2 separate regions of the Homo sapiens genome follow, and region 1 is linked to region 2. The links are contacts of gene promoters, found by promoter capture Hi-C in human tissues and cell types (Jung and others, 2019). All regions are on one chromosome and are shown on one strand. The core of a region is centred on a gene start or on the middle of the fragment in contact, and the rest is flanking DNA. Distances in the headings are between cores, read along the strand shown.

Region 1 (4,672 bases), core at 1,646-4,145, 360 kb before region 2:
TAAATGGCTTTAAGGTTTTGATCTTCATTCCTCTAAACCAAGGTTTCCTCCAAAATCAGAAGTTCTTATGTCAAGTTTTATTGATTTTTCTTGAATTTTATCTGTAGATGCATGTATATACTTCTGCCTTAATTACATTATTTGGTTCTCAATAAGCACCTGTGCTATCCAATTACAAGGCGCAGAGGGAAGGGATATAGCCCACCCCAGTGGTAGGGAGGACTTCCCAGAGGAGGCAATGCCTGGTCAGAATCTCATAGCATAGGTAGGAGTTAGCTAGGCTTGGAAGGGAAAAATGCATTATAAGTGAGGAAGACAAGAGATATTCTTAAATAAAAGGTCAAAAGGTGTCACGAGATCATTTATTTTCTAGGTTTAAGCAAGATACAATTTTGGAGATATGCAAATTAATGGCTTACTGTGAAGCCATTAGAATTAATACTTTTATTTTTCTTAATCAGGGATTCTGTGCTGCTGAGATCATTACAGAAGCAACAGTAGCAGGTGGCCTGGCCATATAGGGATTCCTTACTCGCAGCAGAGAATGTTGCTGCCACTCAAAGTCACCAGGGGCTGAAGAGCTCCTGTGGAGACCCACATCATCTAACAACACACATGCTCAAAACAGGGAAATGTGCATTTTCAGGAGAGGAAGAGACAAACCTTTTGTTTAGCTAATTGGCATGACAGAGTGTGACATACACGTGCTCCTGGAAGAATGGTGTGGGGTGTCTGCACTCAAAATCTGGAGCATAGGCAACTGGATGAAGGGCTCTGTGGCATTGATTTTCATTGTGTGTGTGTTAATATTTATATTTGTAATTAAATAAATAATTGAAATTATGCTGAATTGAAAAAAGATTGTGAGGTTTAATGGGACTGTGTGTGTGTGTGTGTGTGTGTGTGATTATTACTAAAGAAAAGGTCTCAAGGTGATTAAACTGTTCAGATAAGGATAAATATAGTGTCCCCAGCCCCACCCTCCAAAGTGTAATTCTTGAGCAGTTTCTCATGCCAAGTTCCGGGTGGCTGAATAATAAGAGATAGTAGTTAATCGCCACCTGGGAGAGGGAGTGGGAACTAAGGCAACAGATGTAAAAAGTTAAGCAGATGCCCTGCACATGGGGAGGGGGTCAATGTGCCTAATGTTCTATCTGACCAGGACTGATGTGGGCGGAGGGCCTGGGGCTGTGGCTGCCACTCCCCGGGTGAGAGGTGAGGGGCCTGAGAACAGGAGCCAGCTGCTTTCACTTGCTCCCAGGCCTCACTGTCCCAGAGTGGCCAAGCCCACTTCTTGAAATAACCAGCTGCCAGGACCCCTGGGACGGCGGGAGACGGGAGAGGCTTCCTGCCCTAGTGTGAGGAACTGAGCCACCGACCTGACCACTAGGAGGCAGGATCACATTACCTAACTCACTGGCAGGCTCACCCAGGGGCCTGGACGCCTTTGAAAAGAATCTGCTTGCTCTGGGTCCAAGAGTAACCCAGCCCTGGTTCATCAAGAACAATAAAGAGAAGGAGTTTGCCTTTGAATTCTGGCTCTGACACTTACTATCTGTGGGACCCTAGAGAAGTCACTAACCTTTGCAAGCCTCAGTTACCTCATCTGTAAAATGGAGGCAGTGATGTCTGCCCCTCAGGGTGGTTGTGAGGATTAGAAATGGCACACAGTGGGTCCTTGGTAAGTAACAGCTATTATGTGCAAAAAGGGTGCTCATGAAATTTGTCCCCACAAACATGCCTAAATCCTCCCTACCCACATACCACTTAGGCAGATACAATTCGGTTTGGGCAGCTTAAGAGTAACAGGGTTGGAAACTTGAGCCCTTGGTACGAAGCCCCCAGCTGCTCCCTTTGGAACATGCTGAAAGGGATGGAGAAAGCTGCAGGGACTCCATATGCCAACTGCCCTGGCAGGACCCTGCCCGAAGGGTCGCAATCTCTGTCCTGTTTTGGGAAACAGAATCGTGTGTCCTTAATCCTCCTTATGGGAAAAAGTTGGGCAATGGAGTCCAGGCGAGAACGCCAGAGCTTGGATTCTACTGGGTCAGTGAACAAACACGTGCCCCTCAGGGGTGGAGTTGGAGGCTGAAGAGGCATTTGAAGAAAAAGACCCAGTGGGTGTAGGTGGCCCCTTGCAGGTCAGCCACCTGAGGGCTGTCTACCCTGCTACTCCCCTGTCTTACAAGTGTTAGAGCCAGAAGAGACCTCGGGCTCAGTGGTGCCCACAGATGGGTTTTATTTGACCTGTGTTTCCCACACTTCCTGGCAGCTCAGGCTCTGGATAGGGAGTCAGAAGACAGCTTCTGCCTTACGTTGCCTTTCAAAACTATGACTTACTCTCATTGACGCAAACTGATTTGCATCCAAAACCCTAGCTGTAAGGAAATGAGAAATGTGGTATTTGATGTTGTGGTCTCTGAAGGACAAAAGGCCACCCAGAAAAAGAGGGGGAATGTGGGAGCCAGCACCCCCATATCCTTCACAGGTGCCAACATGGAAGGAATCCAGAGCTTTCACAAGAAAGTCCAGCTTTTCTGGGCAACTTAGAAGACCTGATAGCAGTGGGCTGTCACTCTCACATCGGCAGTCTGCTGGTGTGAAGCGGTGGCTGCGCCCCAGCTGGGCTTTTGCTCTCCCATTCTCCCCAAGCACCACCAGCCTGGCCCCTGACAGCCATGGAGTTTGCAACCCCCACCTTAGAGACTGGACCCCTCTTCAGGTGACGGCTTGGTTTAGCCTCTTGCCTTATGGATAAAGAAAGCAGGGCCAGGCGAGAGGACTTCCTCTGGGTTCTGTGGCCCTCGGTTGCCACTGTGGAGGCTGGAGCTCATCCTCCTGATTCTCCAGTGCCCCCTGTTTTCACCACATTGCTCTGCCTCCACTTGGTGTTATATAAACCGTGGCCTGAGTAGGGGACACGAATAGTGGAATCCCATGGATGCACTTTCCATGTCAAGCTTGGCAGGACTCACTTTTGGGATGGCCTCACAGTATCCAATTGGTGGTCCTGAGTTTTCAAACAACAGTTAAATTATGTTCTTTATTCTCTCTTTTAAAAGGCAAGGAAGAGTGTAACATATTTCCCACAAAACGATTAACATTTAATAAAAAGTTTTAATGTTATCAGGAAGATTAGGCTCTCCAGAATGATTCATTCCCAGAGGGTTTCAGATGGCCACAGTTTTAGTAAAATTGCTCTCATCTGGAGAGCACCTTTCACTTACCCAAAGCATTTTCATGTGTGGCGATGCATTGCAATCTTTAACATTTTTTTTTAATGTTTAAATCATGTAATCGTCCTTTAAATGAAATCTTACTTGAAACCTCAATATATAATGGAGCTACAAACAGAACAGTTCTAGGTGAAGCTGGGCTGAGAGACTCTGAATCCCACCCATGGACTCCCTCGCTTCCCACCCACCCTGGAGGCGCCGCCATGCAGCCTAGGTCCGGGCTTCTCCACACCTGCTGTCTCTCATCCACAGAATGCAGATTCCGTGGCTTCATATTGCCCCGCTGATTCCAATCTCGGAGTTGAGGCCTGGGCATCTGCATTTTAACAAGCCCACACAAGGTGGTTTTTATGCATTCCGAAGCTTGAGAAACTCCATCCTAGGCTTCCAGGGAGCATCGTTTGTAAACTCATTCCTTCTGTTTTGACATAAATTGAGTAGGTATTATTATCCTGATTTTACAGTTGACACTATGTTTGCCCAGGGTTGCACATTTCACTGGTGGGGACAGAAGCTAAACCCTGGGCCCTTCAACATGGTGTATCCCCTGCATTCTTCCCATCAGACCATGCGGCAAGAATGGATAGAATGGGGTAAGCACCTGACACCATGTGAGCCCAGGCCCACATTCTATCAAAGGGGGTATCAAAGGCCACCAGATTGTCTCTAGCTCTTTCCCTATCTTTCTCGGAGAAAGGAGAAAGGTGTCACACAATGGATGGAGTATGCCAGTCACATGGGTCTGAATTTGGATCCTCCCCTTCCATTTCCCAGTCATGAGCCTCAGTTATAAAGATTAGAAAGCATACAGTTGGTCCTCTGTATCTGTACGTTTCAGATCCATGGATTCAACTACCTGCTGATGAAAAATATTCAGAAAAAAGGAACAAATAATAATACAACAACAAAAATTAATACAAATTTTAAAAACAATGTAGCAGCTATTTACATAGTATTTACGTTGTAATAGGTATTATTAGAAATCTAGAGATGATTTTTTTTTTTTTTTGAGAAGGAGTTTCGCTCTTGTTGCCCAGGCTGGAGTGCAATGGCACGATCTTGGCTCACTGCAACCTCCGCCTCCCAGGTTCAAGGGATTCTCCTGCCTCAGCCTCCCGAATTACTGGGATTACAGGCATGCACTACCACGCCTGGCTAATTTTGTATTTTTAGTAGAGATGGGGTTTCTCCATGTTTGTCAGGCTGGTCTTGAATTCCTGACCTCAGGTGATCTGCCCGCCTCAGCATCCCAAAGTGCTGGGATTACAGGCATGAGCCACCGCGCCCAGCCAGAGATGATTTAATATATGGGAGGAAGCATGTAGGTTACATGCAAATACTATACCATTTGATATTGGGGACTTGAGCATCTATATCTTGGTATCCCTGGGGTTCTTGAACCAATCCCCTGGGGATACAGAGGAATGACTGAACAT
Region 2 (4,449 bases), core at 1,390-3,889:
GAAAAGTTTCTGTAAGGGCCGGACCCAGCATCAGATGGTAACACTGATTGAACAAGAGATTAGCACAATAGATCTCTAACCGAGGGGAAGCGTTGCTTTTCACGCTACGCGCCGTAATTAATGGTATGAATCAATTAATTTGACTTTTATTGTGTCGAAGGAAAAAAGCGCAACAAATGGAACCGGCAGCTGGGAGTTGTTCGTCCTCCACCCCCTTCCCCAGGGAGGTTCCAAGGAGACACCGGGGAATGGACGGATCAGGCTGGGCCGTGGCAGAGGGAGGGTAGGAGGCAGCGACCAGCAGCGTGGAGGGAGTCCAGAGAGCTAGCCTCTGCGGACGGCGGAATCGAAATTAGGCTCATTTGGAGACTACTTCGAGACCGGTGAGGGGAGCCCTGTAGCCACCATCCTCCGGCGCGCATCCACACATACTAGTCCACGCGGGCCCAGCCACCAAGGCCGCGGCAGGGCCAGCGCTGCGCCCCGGGCCCCTGCCTTTAGGGCTGGGCAACCCAAGCAGAGCAAAGGAGGTTCCTGAATGTGTAAATTTCCGCTTTTTAGCTTTTTTTTTTTTTTTTTTTGGACCTTCCGACACTTCGGTTGCTGAGGCAGTTGCAGACGCGACCTCTGCAGTCCTGGGCGATGGCCAGCCAGCTCAGCTCGGGTCGGTTTCGCGGAAAGCTGTCTAGACGGCATTGTAAACGGTTCGGAGCCTGCGGGCCACAAAGCTGTGGAGCTACGGAAATCAACTCTGAGATGCGTTTTAGGGCCGTGTGCAACCTCGGGATCATTTAGATAAAGAAAAACTGTGGAGGTTGGCGGGCGTCTCAGGATAGTGTCACCACCCCCTACCCTGCTCCCAGCCTCAGATGAGTAGTGTTATATCCTGGGAAACTGTCTAATGGGGATGAAAGTCAATCTGTGTGTCTCAATGCCTGTAATGAAGCAAGTTTACAGATTTTTAAATTTTTATTTTTATTTTATTGAATTATTTTTGGTGTGTCTAGGCCAAGGAAAGAGGAGATCGTGGGTGGGGAAACAGACTGAGGGAATCAGAAGCACCACTGTCCATCCGGAATTAAATCCACATCCCAGCATCTTCTGCAAATATTTCACTAATTATTTCCTCTCGGAACTCCTCCCCTCGTGCTCCTTCCTCTGGTGAGGCCGGCGCTCCCCTCCCAGGCCGCAGCGGACAGACAGGGATTGGGTTCCGTGTGCCTGCCACACCAGGCAGGCTCTTGCGGCTCCCAACTAGGCGGCCTAAATGAGGGAGGAAAGAGGAGGCGCATCGCTGATTCACCGCGTCAAGAGCACTGACTTTCCTTGGAGGTGTGAGGTCCACGCACCCCAGCCACGCACTTGGGGGTCGGTTTGCGGTGCCTCCCCCTCCAGTCCCAGTGAAATCCCCACAGTTTTTCCTACTATCACTGACTTGCCTTGCACTCCGCGTGCATTGGCCACACATCCTCGCCTCCTCCACCCGCTCCGCCGCCGGTTTTCTTGGAAGTTAAATCTTGGAGGATTTGTCCACACCTTAAGAGAAGAAAATCCACGTTAGCTGGCAGCAACGGAGATCCCAGCATGCTGGCATGCCCAAGTCTGCCCAGGTTCCCCCAAGGCCATGCCCGCCGCCCGGGAAGTCACTGCCCGCACCCCTCACGTTTCTTCAGCCGCCCCTGGGCGCTGCGTCTAACCTGAAGACACCAGGCCTCTTCCCGGATCCACTCGACTTACCCAGGCCGCTGCCAATCCCAGCTCCTTCCCCAGCGCCTCATTTCCGATTTTTTCATATGCTAAGTCGTTTAACAACTCCAAGTAGCCAGTTATGGCTTCTTTATTTATAGGTTCCCTGCTATTTTACGTCGTTTTTATTTCTCTCGGCAACTATTCTAGTAGATTAATCAATAGCCATTTTCTGACCTTCGGGAACCCCAGCTGATGCTTTTTGTGGCCGCACGAAAAAATACATACAGGAAAACACGCCCGCATCAAGCCGGGAAAGAGCAGGTAGGACCTGAGTGGTTTGGTTGGGGGAGGGGGAAAAAGACATCTCAGCAGGTGTCTTCCCCGGAATGAGCACTGAGGCCAGAGGGGAATCTGAAATCTAATTAGCAGGAGGGAGCCGGGTGCGCTGCTCTTACTCTTTAAAGCTAAAAACAATGAAACAAAAAGCAAAACAGAGACTAAGTTTTGCTTTTTAAAACACGATATGGGAACCTCGTTCTAGGTCGCCCAGTCCCTGTCTAAGGAGTGTGACAAAGTGGGGGGGAGAAGGGCGGAAGGGAGAGGGGGCGGGGAAGGCAGGGCAGCGACAGTCGCACAGTCCCGCGGACGCTCCCAGGCCCACGCCCTGACTCGCTCACACCCACCCACACTCACACCCACCCGCTCCCTGGGCCCCAGGGCCCGGATCCAGCCTGGGTGGGGGGGTCTCCGGGCGGGCCGCAGCGCCCTCCGTGCCCCGGGGATGCTGGCGCACAGTGCGGAGCGGAGTTGCGCGTCTCTCGTCCCTTTGTTGACAATTCCCTGAACCAACTTGAGTTTGGCCGGCTCGGCCGCGGCCCTGACGTCACGCACGGTCACGTGGCCCCGCCTCCCGCTGGATCTTTAAGTAGAAAGTAATCTATCAGGCCAGTCCTTAAAACGGGACTTTCGACTACCGGGGCTTCGGCGTCCCTGACACCCAGCCCCCTGCCCCCCCGCTACTGTCCCTGCCCGCGCCCTCCCGAGCTGCTCGGCGCCCGGCGTCCCGCGCCCGCCTGGACCGCTCCTGCGCCCCACGCCAGGGCCAGAGGCCGAGGAAGGCGGGCTAAGTGAGGGGGCGCGGCGTGGAGAACCGCCGGGGCCGGGAGCGGTAGCGAGCGCCTAGTACCGAGCGCCAGGGACGGCAGGAGTTCGCGGAGCGCGGCCGCTGGGGGCGGACGGCAGAGCCCGCGCCACGCGATGCGGGGCCGCCGAGTGTGAGCTGAGCCCAGCGGGCCCCAAGCCACCTGCGGCCCCCTCCCCTCTCCCTGCCCCCCATCTTTCGGGGGCACTCAAACCCTCTTCCCCTGAGCTCCGTGGCAGCCCCCGAACACCCTCATCGCCCGCTGCCCCCTCCCCGCCGCCGCTACCAACCCCGAGGAGGGATGACCCTCTCCGGCGGCGGCAGCGCCAGCGACATGTCCGGCCAGACGGTGCTGACGGCCGAGGACGTGGACATCGATGTGGTGGGCGAGGGCGACGACGGGCTGGAAGAGAAGGACAGCGACGCAGGTTGCGATAGCCCCGCGGGGCCGCCGGAGCTGCGCCTGGACGAGGCGGACGAGGTGCCCCCGGCGGCACCCCATCACGGACAGCCTCAGCCGCCCCACCAGCAGCCCCTGACATTGCCCAAGGAGGCGGCCGGAGCCGGGGCCGGACCGGGGGGCGACGTGGGCGCGCCGGAGGCGGACGGCTGCAAGGGCGGTGTTGGCGGCGAGGAGGGCGGCGCGAGCGGCGGCGGGCCTGGCGCGGGCAGCGGTTCGGCGGGAGGCCTGGCCCCGAGCAAGCCCAAGAACAGCCTAGTGAAGCCGCCTTACTCGTACATCGCGCTCATCACCATGGCCATCCTGCAGAGCCCGCAGAAGAAGCTGACCCTGAGCGGCATCTGCGAGTTCATCAGCAACCGCTTCCCCTACTACAGGGAGAAGTTCCCCGCCTGGCAGAACAGCATCCGCCACAACCTCTCACTCAACGACTGCTTCGTCAAGATCCCCCGCGAGCCGGGCAACCCGGGCAAGGGCAACTACTGGACCCTGGACCCGCAGTCCGAGGACATGTTCGACAACGGCAGCTTCCTGCGGCGCCGGAAACGCTTCAAGCGCCACCAGCAGGAGCACCTGCGCGAGCAGACGGCGCTCATGATGCAGAGCTTCGGCGCTTACAGCCTGGCGGCGGCGGCCGGCGCCGCGGGACCCTACGGCCGCCCCTACGGCCTGCACCCTGCGGCGGCGGCCGGTGCCTATTCGCACCCGGCAGCGGCGGCGGCCGCGGCTGCTGCGGCGGCGCTCCAGTACCCGTACGCGCTGCCGCCGGTGGCACCGGTGCTGCCTCCCGCTGTGCCGCTGCTGCCCTCGGGCGAGCTGGGCCGCAAAGCGGCCGCCTTCGGCTCACAGCTCGGCCCGGGCCTGCAGCTGCAGCTCAATAGCCTGGGCGCCGCCGCGGCCGCTGCGGGCACAGCGGGCGCCGCGGGCACCACCGCGTCGCTCATCAAGTCCGAGCCAAGCGCGCGGCCGTCGTTCAGCATCGAGAACATCATAGGTGGGGGCCCCGCGGCTCCTGGGGGCTCGGCGGTGGGCGCTGGGGTCGCCGGCGGCACTGGGGGTTCAGGGGGCGGCAGCACGGCGCAGTCGTTTCTGCGGCCACCCGGGACCGTGCAGTCGGCAGCGCTCATGGCCACCCACCAACCGCTGTCGCTGAGCCGGA

The links. The method cuts DNA at HindIII sites, captures the fragments that hold promoters and counts their contacts. A contact is called where the count stands out against the background at its distance.
Region 1: a fragment that was not itself captured here is called in contact with the fragment with the promoter of FOXD3 in region 2 in 1 of the 25 tissues and cell types used here (stomach).

Annotation. Positions count from the first base shown.
Region 1 is chr1:62,961,992-62,966,663 of GRCh38, forward strand. No RefSeq gene overlaps it. Among named protein-coding and RNA genes, the nearest start is that of LINC01739, 48 kb to the right of the region's middle. The HindIII fragment of the contact is 3,654 bases long and covers 1,069-4,672 here.
Region 2 is chr1:63,319,928-63,324,376 of GRCh38, forward strand. It overlaps FOXD3 (forkhead box D3), which reads left to right and starts at 2,640. Exons shown (of 1, transcript NM_012183.3): 1 at 2,640-4,449. The coding sequence starts at 3,132. FOXD3-AS1 (FOXD3 antisense RNA 1) reads right to left here. Exons shown (of 3, transcript NR_121637.1): 1 at 4,428-4,449; 2 at 1,440-1,536; 3 at 957-1,263. RefSeq lists silencers at 2,248-2,557, 2,678-2,757 and an enhancer at 3,081-3,770. The HindIII fragment of the contact is 29,021 bases long and covers 1-4,449 here.